Regions from separate parts of the Homo sapiens genome. Here region 2 is linked to region 1. The links are contacts of gene promoters, found by promoter capture Hi-C in human tissues and cell types (Jung and others, 2019). All regions are on one chromosome and are shown on one strand. Each heading gives the region's core, a stretch centred on a gene start or on the middle of the fragment in contact. The rest is flanking DNA. Distances are from core to core; before and after follow the strand shown.

Region 1 (4,889 bases), core at 1,499-3,998:
GAGGTCTAGAAACTCTTGAACAGAGTATGAATTATATGTCTCCACTGGCCTGGAAATTTCTATCCTTGACATTGTTGGTTTTGTTGCCCATTTTGTGGGGCAGAAGAAAGGATGCAGGCAGGGCGGAGTGGCACAGTTTCCTCTCAGGCCTACAATCAGAAACAGGTTGGCACAAGCGGACAATCCCAGGGCCAGGATCAGGGTGAGGTCAGTGAGGCTGAGTTGAGAGGCAAGTGCAGGGTCGGATCCTGTCTTTACTTAAGATTTTGATATTTTGTTCACCACATTTCTTTTCTGCATTAATTTTTATTTTAAAAAATGTCGCATCCCTGAGTTTTTTGGCACCTACTTACATTTTGTGCCCAGGGTGAACGCCTCACTGACCTTACCTTCATCCTGGCCCTGCTCAACCAACACCTGGGCTGTGGGCTCAGGTAGATCTGTGAGGCCACAGTGAGCACAGCCTCTCCCTTTTACCCTCTTCAGCTCAGTTGGGTCAGGAAAGTCTCCTACAAGAACTAAGTTCTCCCTGCTTGCAAAAACGAAAACAAAGGGTAAAGAAAAGTGTCCTCTTTGTCTAACAGGAAGCCAATGGGAGTGTTACAGAACAGCAGTTGTCGTAGATAGAACTGACCCATGGGAGTTTCAGTTGCTCTATTCCAGGGCTTATATCTTTCTGGACAGGAACCATAATGAGCAAAAGAACTAATGCCCACAAGGTGAATTTAGCAGAAGAATCAAGGAGTCAGAATAATACATTAATTCAAAAAGTAGGAAGACTCCCTCCAAAGAATGCTAAGTTAAATAAAAATGAGAGACTTAAGATGCACACAGAAATGTGACATAAAGCTCTTTTATGTAGTGAAATGGGCAGGAGTACATGCGGTACACCTAAAGTAACCGATGGTAACTTTCCATTCTTGAAGAGAACAAAATAATACTTTCAATCGTATCGCTAAACTTCTCATGGGACAGGTTGGTATGTGTCTCCTTGTATTTTCCAAAAATACATGCTTACCCTCCTCAGGCAGGGGCCGGATGCTGCCCCCCACAAAGAACACTGGGGCCCTGCTTTCTCTCCATTTGGGTTTGAAGTGAGTAGAGTGGAGAAAGGGATGCTTTCAGAAATGTTATCTTACTTAATGCCCCCATAGCCTGTAGCTCCGTAAGGAACAGTCTCTCGGGAGAAAGAGAGGATTAGGAGCTGTGGGGGGAAAAGCTTTCCTTCTGGCAGTTTCTACAGCTAGAACCATGAAGCCCCCAGGTGTCACACTGTTTTCTCTGGAGAAATATTATAAGATTAGATGTAATGTTATTACGCTGTCTCATTTGGCAAGTAGTATCATTATCCGATTGTTTGGAAAGGTGAAATACAGGGGATTCTGGTTCTTTGCCCTACCATGGAAGGAACATTTGGACACCACATTACTTTTTTTGGAAAACGGAAGCTAAAGCTAGAGGCCAAAAAAGCTCTCAAAAGAGAAGATGAAGAAAGTTAGGAATATTGGTCTGATTAAAAAGCTCTCAAAATTATCTAGTGAATGCTGACATTAGATAGGTATTGGTCTTTAGGTAATAACATGGGTATGTATCTACTTTATGCACTTCTATGCAGATTTAGTAGAAAAAAATACCTAAATATATATTTAATTCCATAGGATCCCAGTGCATTTTGAGGATTTAAACAGATAAGCCAACCTCAAAGGGACTGATTCTTGCAACTAAAACACAGACACCTCTGGGGTGAAATGTGGCAACAGTTTGACAGGCATAGCAGTAGCTTAGGCCAGAAAGGATTTATCCAATTAAAATTATGGGATGAATTTTGGCTGGCAGAATGTAATTACCAGCCTTGGAATGGATCCAGGATCCTGAGGTTAACACCCCTCCTCTTGCCAACAACCCTCCTACCTGCCAACACTCCGAGATGGAGAAGGCTGGATCTGACATAATCGCACATAATACTGTTGTGACATCTAAGTACAATGATGATGATGTGAGAAGCATCATGAACCTGATTTTTTTTAACACTCATTATGTTACTTATTTTTATGCCACATTAGGCTAGAAACCAAATGTCCACATAAATGTTAATTTCCTCAAATCTGTGTTTAAAAATTATAATTAGAAAATAAAAAATAGATTTAAAAATTAATTTATTCCGTCAAAGTAGTTATTTAGTGATTATTTCACTACAGGAACAAAATTGGATCAAAATGGTGACATTTAATCCTTGCTACACGAAAAAAAAAAAAGCAGGTCCTGATTTTTTGGAAGCGAAATGTGTTTTCAAGGTTGAGTGGCCTAGAAAAAAAGGAAATGCGGAAGCCTGATTCATATTCGTTGTAACTTTGACTAAATGGGTATGCGCAAGGACTGCTTTTGTCCCGGGGTGGGTCCAGTTCACAGTCACGGGGGGCACTAATCCTCCAGGAGGGGATTTACCAGAAGGGTGTGTGTGAGTGCGTGTGTCCCTTCCAAGGAAACGAGAGAAGAGCCCCCTGCTGGTGCATGATCAATAGGCAAAGACCTGATCATTAGATGCCAATGCCCCTTTAAAGTCATTAATTGACTAGAGAATTGTGGAGGGTCTGGCGATACGGAAGAGCAAACGAAAAGGCAACACTGATAAAAATCTGAAGCGTTCAAGGACGCCAGGCACGTGGTGCCGGGTCAGGGAGGGAGAGGCAGAGCCAGCCCGGTCGGTGTGCGGCTGGGGTGGGGCGCGCTCCGGGCGTCCGGGAGGCGGAGCCGGCGGCAGACGCTGCGCGCGGGCCACGCGCGGCGGCGGAGGCTGCGCGCGGGCCACGCGCGGCGGCGACTTGGGCTGGGCGGTCGCCCTGCCCCACCGCCCTTCGGCGCTCGCAGGTCCGCTCCCCTCCCAAACCGCAGAGCGGCAGGCGCGGCCGCTGGTTCGAGAGCTCGGCCGGGGCAGCGCAGCCGCCGGCTGCCCCTCGCTCCCAGGCGCCACAACCCCGCGCCCTCGCCGCTGCTGCGTCCCGCGAGACCTGTGGGGAGGCCGGGAGTCACTTCGGGTTCCCTTTCAGCCCACGTGGTCCTGGGACACTCCACCCAGGAACCTAGTCGGCACCGCGCAGGGAATCCCAGCAGCGGGGTTCTGGCCCCAGCACGCGTTGCGGCAGCCTGGCGAGCGTCCTTGCGGCCTCCAAGTGCCGGTGGGGTGCGTGCGCAGGGGGCAGGTGAACTGCTGCACTTTGCACTTGCTAGGCTAGGTTCTCCGCGGGTGGGGAGGCGCGGGGGCGGGGGACGGCCGAGTGTTTAATCTATCACCAGAGGTCATCCAATGGTAATTGAAGGATGAGCTGGGAGGACTAGGATCTCCCTGTCCCAAACACAGAGTGTTTTGGGGGGCTTGCGTTTGGGTCACTTTCTGAGCCTGGTACTGCCGCTCATTTCAGCTTCGCTGTGAAGGTGAATTTTTCTAACACCATCTTTGTGTGATTTAGCTGTCCACAGGGAATCAAAATGTGGAATGAGAGGATGAAACTAATCCTTTCTTTTGCACTGTTAGGGGTTGCCATAAACACCATTTGTTAAAAAGCATAATTATGTTGGGAAAGTGCCTGATGAGACAATTAAGCTGCATAAACACACTGAAAACAAATGAAAACCAGAAGACGCCCACACCCCTTGTGTAAAGCAATTTTTTGTTTACATAGAAACGAGAGGTCTGGGTTGCTTTATTACAACAATGTTATTAATATCTAGAAAAACCTAATGACAGAATTTTTATGAATTTTCAGTGATGAGATGATGGACATGATATGAAAACCTGCCTGCAAACCTGAGCTAGCTACGAAGCCTGAGCTCTCTCTAGGTTAAGATGATTAGGCCAACGAATGATCCTGGCGAACAAGCCAGTGGATTTATTGAGGGAGAGCACCATTATTTGCACCAGAGCACTTTTAGCTTAAACTCTAAAGTTTAACGCGTGTCTCAGAGTTAGACCACTGTGGTTGGTATCCCTCACACAGGGAACAGTGGTTGGTATCCCTCACACAGGGAACATTACCTGTCAGAAAAAGACCCTCATTAAATATTTGTTGAATGAATTCATGAGGGCCTCATCTATTTTTAGTTATGGTATTTAAAAGAGACCAAAGTTATGAGGTCCTGAACTTGAAGAGGGAAATTATTTTCTTATTATTTTAAGATGTTTTAATTCCTTTAGATCATGAATATCATTTGAAGTATGGAAAGATGTGTCAAAAATGCTATTCTAGAGTACTAAAAAGTATCAAAGCAACCTCCAAAACCTGTATAATTAATTTTCAACAAAAATCACATTTTTGATATTATTGAATAATATGTATCAGAATATGTATCATCTTTCAAGTTACAGAATTTTGTAAAAAGACTTTAAACTGATTTAGAAACTTTGGTGGAACAAGGAGGAACTTAGACAATTGTCATGTAAACCATCCAAATGGCTTCCTTATTTATTTGTATAATGTCCATGGCATGGCCTGTAGACACTTTCATTTTTGCTGCAAGAATTTCTTTTATAAGAATCCACATATTAAATAATCTTCCTCATTTTCTTTTTCTGCATTTCCCCACTAAGTCTAGTTTAACAACAAAAAAAACATACCTGTTTGTAAAATAGTACAGACCTTGAAAACAGGGATAAGGCTAAGGAAAACTATGCTTAAAATGGGATAACATACTTTAATGAAAAACTTTCACTTACATGATGAAATTCACGCTGAGGACCCTGCCAGGTATTTTCCAGTGTCGTTACAAGGTTTATATGTATGTGACCATGTACACATGGTTTCTTATTTTAGTCAATCTGGAGATTTTATGCTTTAGAATTTTTCTAGGAATGAAATAGTAAAGTGCTCATATTATGACTGCTTCGTTTCCAA
Region 2 (4,889 bases), core at 1,554-4,053, 43 kb before region 1:
TAAGTGTTGCTTCCCCAAGGTAAGCTCTGAAAATTTTTCCAGACTCTCAAAGCTAGGGCCAGCACGCCTGCAGAAGACTGATTTGGAAGTTAGCAGCTTGAGAAAGGAAAAATTCTGCTTTGAAAACAATTTGCTGATAAAGGCATATGACATTTGGGATGGCAGTGCTTGCAAGGCCACAACTAGTGCAGTAGTGGCCTTGCTGGGCAGTGGGAGTGGCAGCAGTTACATTTAGTGTTTGGTAGGGCATTAATAAGTTGTGGCGGTGACTTTGTCATTGGACCAGTTTTATGGGATAGTTTTAAGCATTGTTCCTGGAAGCCTAATTCCATACCTGTTCCTCTAGCCTCCCATTGATTCTCTGAGTCTTCCCATCTCCTTTTAACAAATTCTTTTCTGCTCACTCAGCCAGAATTAGCTTCTGTTACTTACAACTGTGAGTCCTGACTGAAAACATATTTCTTCCTTTGAAGAACTGTTACCTGTAACAGGCTAAGAAGAATATTAAGGTAGAGGGAGTAATTATATAATTTATAATCACTGTAAACAAAGGTGCATAATGCTGGAAAACAAACTCTAGAAAAGTTTAGTGAACTATTATTGAGCAGAAATTGAAGAATGTATCTTTTAAGGAAATTATACATAATATGGGGATATTTTTGCCAAGTTTCTCTATTACTGTTGGAAATAGTTGGAGACCTTAGACGTTTTTTGTCCTCCAAAAGAAATTATCTTAAAACCAGTTTATACAAATACAAATGTATACAAATTTTCAATCCCTGGATATTGATTCTTTTGTTTCTGGGGTTTTTTTTGTTTGTTTTTTTTTATGCACCCTCTCTTGTCTGTCACCCAGGCTGGAGTGCAGTGGTACAATCTCAGCTCACTGCAACCTCCGCCTCTCGGGTTCATGCAATCCTCGTGCCTCAGGCTCCTGAGTAGCTGAGATTACAGGAATGCACCACCACCCCCAGCTAATTTTTGTATTTTTAGTAGAGATGGGGTTTCACCATGTGGGCCAAGCTGATCTTAAACTCCTGGCCTCAAGTGATCCGCCTACCTCAGCCCCCCAAAGTGCTGGGATTAAGACATGAGCCACTGTGGCAGCGGGCCAATATTGATTCTTTATAGCAGTCCCAAGTGAGTTTATCAAGTCAAAGCCAGAATCAAAATGAATCAGGCATTATATAGCATATTAAATTTCTAGAGCTCAGCTCAGCTCCCCTAATCTCTTAGCAGCAACAAGCAGAGTGGCAGCTCTCTCTCATTGCAGTAGGGAAATAACAAAGCGAGAGTAAAACTGCTGTTGCAAAATGAAGCACATCACCACATTTCCATCTAATGCGTTATACTTCATGAGTCTCCCAGGAGCCAGAAAAACACAACAAAGTCTTTAAAAGTGAATCCAGATGTCGGCCATCACCATAGCAGTGCTTTAATTATCAAAAAACAAATAACTCCTTAGGTACAGTCTAAGCAGGTGTTTGTTCACAGAAAACAGAATAGCTGAAGAAACAGCTGTGGCATTATATCTGCTTCAAGACTAGGGAAGAAAATTACAATCTAAATGACAGAGAGACTACCCAGGGAGAGCATAGAAAAATCACAATTATTAGAATTTTGCAAGTATTAACCTATATGACATAATGACTGATTAATATTAATTACTCCATTTTACAGATGGTAAAACTAAGTGCCTTGTATTATAGTCATGCCTCATTCAAAACCTGTCAGTCTTTGACAAGTTCACTACATGATGAATTTATTTTACAAGATCCTTTATGCATATCATATAGCATGGGCTTATTTTTAAAATATATATATATATTTTAACACAAATAATTTTTGTTTTATGAAACTTAGAAAATAAAAATTAGCAAAAAGGAAACCTTTAAACCATCTCTAATAACTGCTAACTTTTTAGATGAGAGGATTTTACATCTGGATCTATGGTTAGGCTTCACAGGATCTGTGAACCTCTGAACTAACTAAAAAATTACAGTATGTTTTTTCCTGGGGTGAGACTGTATATACCTTTCATCAGGTTCTCAAGGGTCTATCATAAAAATTAATAACTCTCCATTCTCTAGATTTTATATGTTTGACTAGAAGACCAAAGATTCATTACAGCTTATTAGTCGCAGCTTGAGAAGGAAGATGGCCTTTGTCTAAATGTTAAATGGGCCCAAATAAATAGTAATCTCTAAAATTTGGCTTAGCTTTTGTACAGCAATCTTTCAAAATTACTGAATATTAGGAAAATATTTCCTTTCTTCTTTAAGATTTGTACTTTTTGTTTCTGTGCATGTTTTTGTATGTGCAATCTCACAATTACCTGATGGACAAGAAGAATAAACAGATGCTTTTACAGCTCGCCTTGGCGGGAAGATCTGGCACAAATGAAGTATCTATAAGGAGCAGCAGAGTCAAGGTGGTGATCCTGTGGATGAATAACTGAAACCTGATATACTTGACAGCAGAAAATATAAAGCAAATTGAAAAGGAGAGAGTGTGGAGATAAATAAGAAAATGAAAGAACTGATAAAGTCACTTGGATTAAAAAACCTGGGAGTAAGGGCTTTGTTTATGATTGAACTTAAGAGAGAATTGAGGGACCACCTACCTTTGATGTTAACGAGAAAGTAAAGAGGAAACATATTTAGAGATACCCTTTGGTGAAAAACAGAAATGGATGTGTCATTTGATGCATCACATTATTTATTCAACAAACTCTTAGTGAGAACTTACTGTGTATGAAAGACTGGACTGAAACATATATAAGAAATAATTTTTGGCCCAAGGAATTTATAGTATAATTGAGGAAACAAATACAAATCACTTCTGCAAAGTAGCAGAGACACAGATGAGGAATTGTAATGTTTGTAAAATCAAAGTGGTGGGAGTAGTCAAAAAAGTGTTTACAGAATGGTATTCAAAATGGGCCTGAAGGCAGAAATCAGACTGGTTGTTACCTGGAAAACAAGGAGAGAAAGGACAAGGCAGGAGAAGAGAACAAGTACAAAGGCATGTGGGGGTAGGAAGGCATGGCATGGGTAGAAAATGCCAGTTAAATTGACATTGTGGGAAAATAACGAGTTTAGCGTATGGGGGCATAGCAAATAATGACTCTGGTTTCGGCAAAACCCCAGGGGAAAGAAAATGAGATCCTGAACTATGGCAGTAACAGAGGGGAGTGGGAAAAGAGGATTAACTAGAGAAATATTTAGAAACTAAGAATCTCAGGATTTAGTACTTCTTGGGGAAGCCATCGTGAATGCTGGCTCTCAAGCTGCATTATCAACAAACAAAAATATTGATACCTTAAAGTTAAAGTCCCACCCTCCTTTTAGAGACTGTAAGACATAGTTCTATCTTGTCTCACATCTCTACCTCTGTTAATCTCCATTTGGGCCAAGCATCCTCAACATGCCTATTCTCATATTCCTCCAATTACAACCTCCAGGGTCTTCATGTTGCAGAACTCACGGAGTTGGATTCTATGTGAATTGTAAATCGGGTACAAGGTGCATAATGCCCTATTTACCTTTTCCTTAGCTTCCAAATTCTTTTATCATGATCTCCAAAATGCCACCCAGCATGTCTAACTCTGCGATCAACAAAACACCGTATGACCTCAACCTCTTTCCTGAGGTTTCTTGCATTAATGGAAGTTGCCCTGAGCTCTGATGTCCTTGCTTCTCTTGCAGCCCTCCCACGTCGAAGCGGTTTTTTCCTTCACCTTTTTTTTAAGTATTTTAAAATTTATTTTCATGCCTTTAACACCTTATGAATTTGTGTGAATCATTCAAGATTACATCTGCCTTCCTTTCAAACTAGCTATGAGATATTTGATTCACCTTGACAAACTGTTCATTCTACACAACTGGCAATCTCCACAGTTCATTCTCTCAGTTGGGTTGATTCCAACCTCCTCAGAAAAGGGTATCAATGGAATAAGGGTTTTTAATTTTTAACTTTTTTTTCTTTTTTTTTGAGACAGAGTCTCACTCTGTCACCCAGACTGGAGTGCAATGGCTTGATCTCGGTTTACTGCAACCTCCACCTCCCAGGTTCAAGTGATTCTCCTGCCTCAGCCTCCCGAGTAGCTGGGATTACAGGCACCCACCACTATACCCAGCTAATTTTTGTATTTTTAGTAGAGATGGGGTTTCACCATGTTGGCCAGGCTGGTCTTGAATTCCTGACCTCAGGTGATCCACATGCCTCAGCCTCCCAAAGTGCTGGGATTACAGGTGTGAGCCAACACGCCTAGCCCAATTTTTTATTTTTTATTATACTTTAAGTTCTGGGATACATGTGCAGAACGTGCAGGTTTGTTACCTAGGTATACACATACCATTGTGATTTGCTGCACCCATCAACCCGTCATCTACAGTAGCTATTTCTCCTAATGCTAGCCCTCCTCTAGTCCCCAAACCCCCAACAGGCCCTGGTGTGTGATGGTCCCCTCCGTGTCCATGTGTTCTCATTGTTCAACTCCCACTTATGAGTGAGAACATGCAGTGTTTGGTTTTCTATTCCTGTGTCAGTTTGTGAGAATGATGGTTTCCAGCTTCATCCATGTCCTTGCAAAGGACATGAACTCTTCCTTTGTTATGGCTGCATAGTATTCCATGGCGTATATGTGCCACATTTTCTTTATTCAGTCTATCATTGATGGGCATTTGCCAAGTCTTTGCTATTGTGAACAGTGCTGCAATAAACATACTTGTACATGTGTGATAGTAGAATGATTTATAATCCTTTGGGTATATACCCAGTAATGGGATTGCTGGGTCAAATGGAATTTCTGGTTCTAGATCCTTGAGGAATCACCACACTCTCTTCCACAATGATTGAACTAATTTACACTCCCACCAACAGTGTAA

The links. The method cuts DNA at HindIII sites, captures the fragments that hold promoters and counts their contacts. A contact is called where the count stands out against the background at its distance.
Region 2: a contact is called between a fragment that was not itself captured here and the fragment with the promoter of FTCDNL1 in region 1, in 1 of the 25 tissues and cell types used here (aorta).

Annotation. Positions count from the first base shown.
Region 1 is chr2:199,849,051-199,853,939 of GRCh38, reverse strand. It overlaps FTCDNL1 (formiminotransferase cyclodeaminase N-terminal like), which reads left to right and starts at 2,748. Exons shown (of 5, transcript NM_001363886.2): 1 at 2,748-3,200. RefSeq lists an enhancer at 2,282-2,856 and a silencer at 2,688-2,967. The HindIII fragment of the contact is 10,346 bases long and covers 1-4,889 here.
Region 2 is chr2:199,892,125-199,897,013 of GRCh38, reverse strand. All of the region lies in intron 2 of LOC101927687 (a long non-coding RNA gene), which reads left to right. Among named protein-coding and RNA genes, the nearest start is that of C2orf69, 17 kb to the left of the region's middle. The HindIII fragment of the contact is 9,555 bases long and covers 1-4,889 here.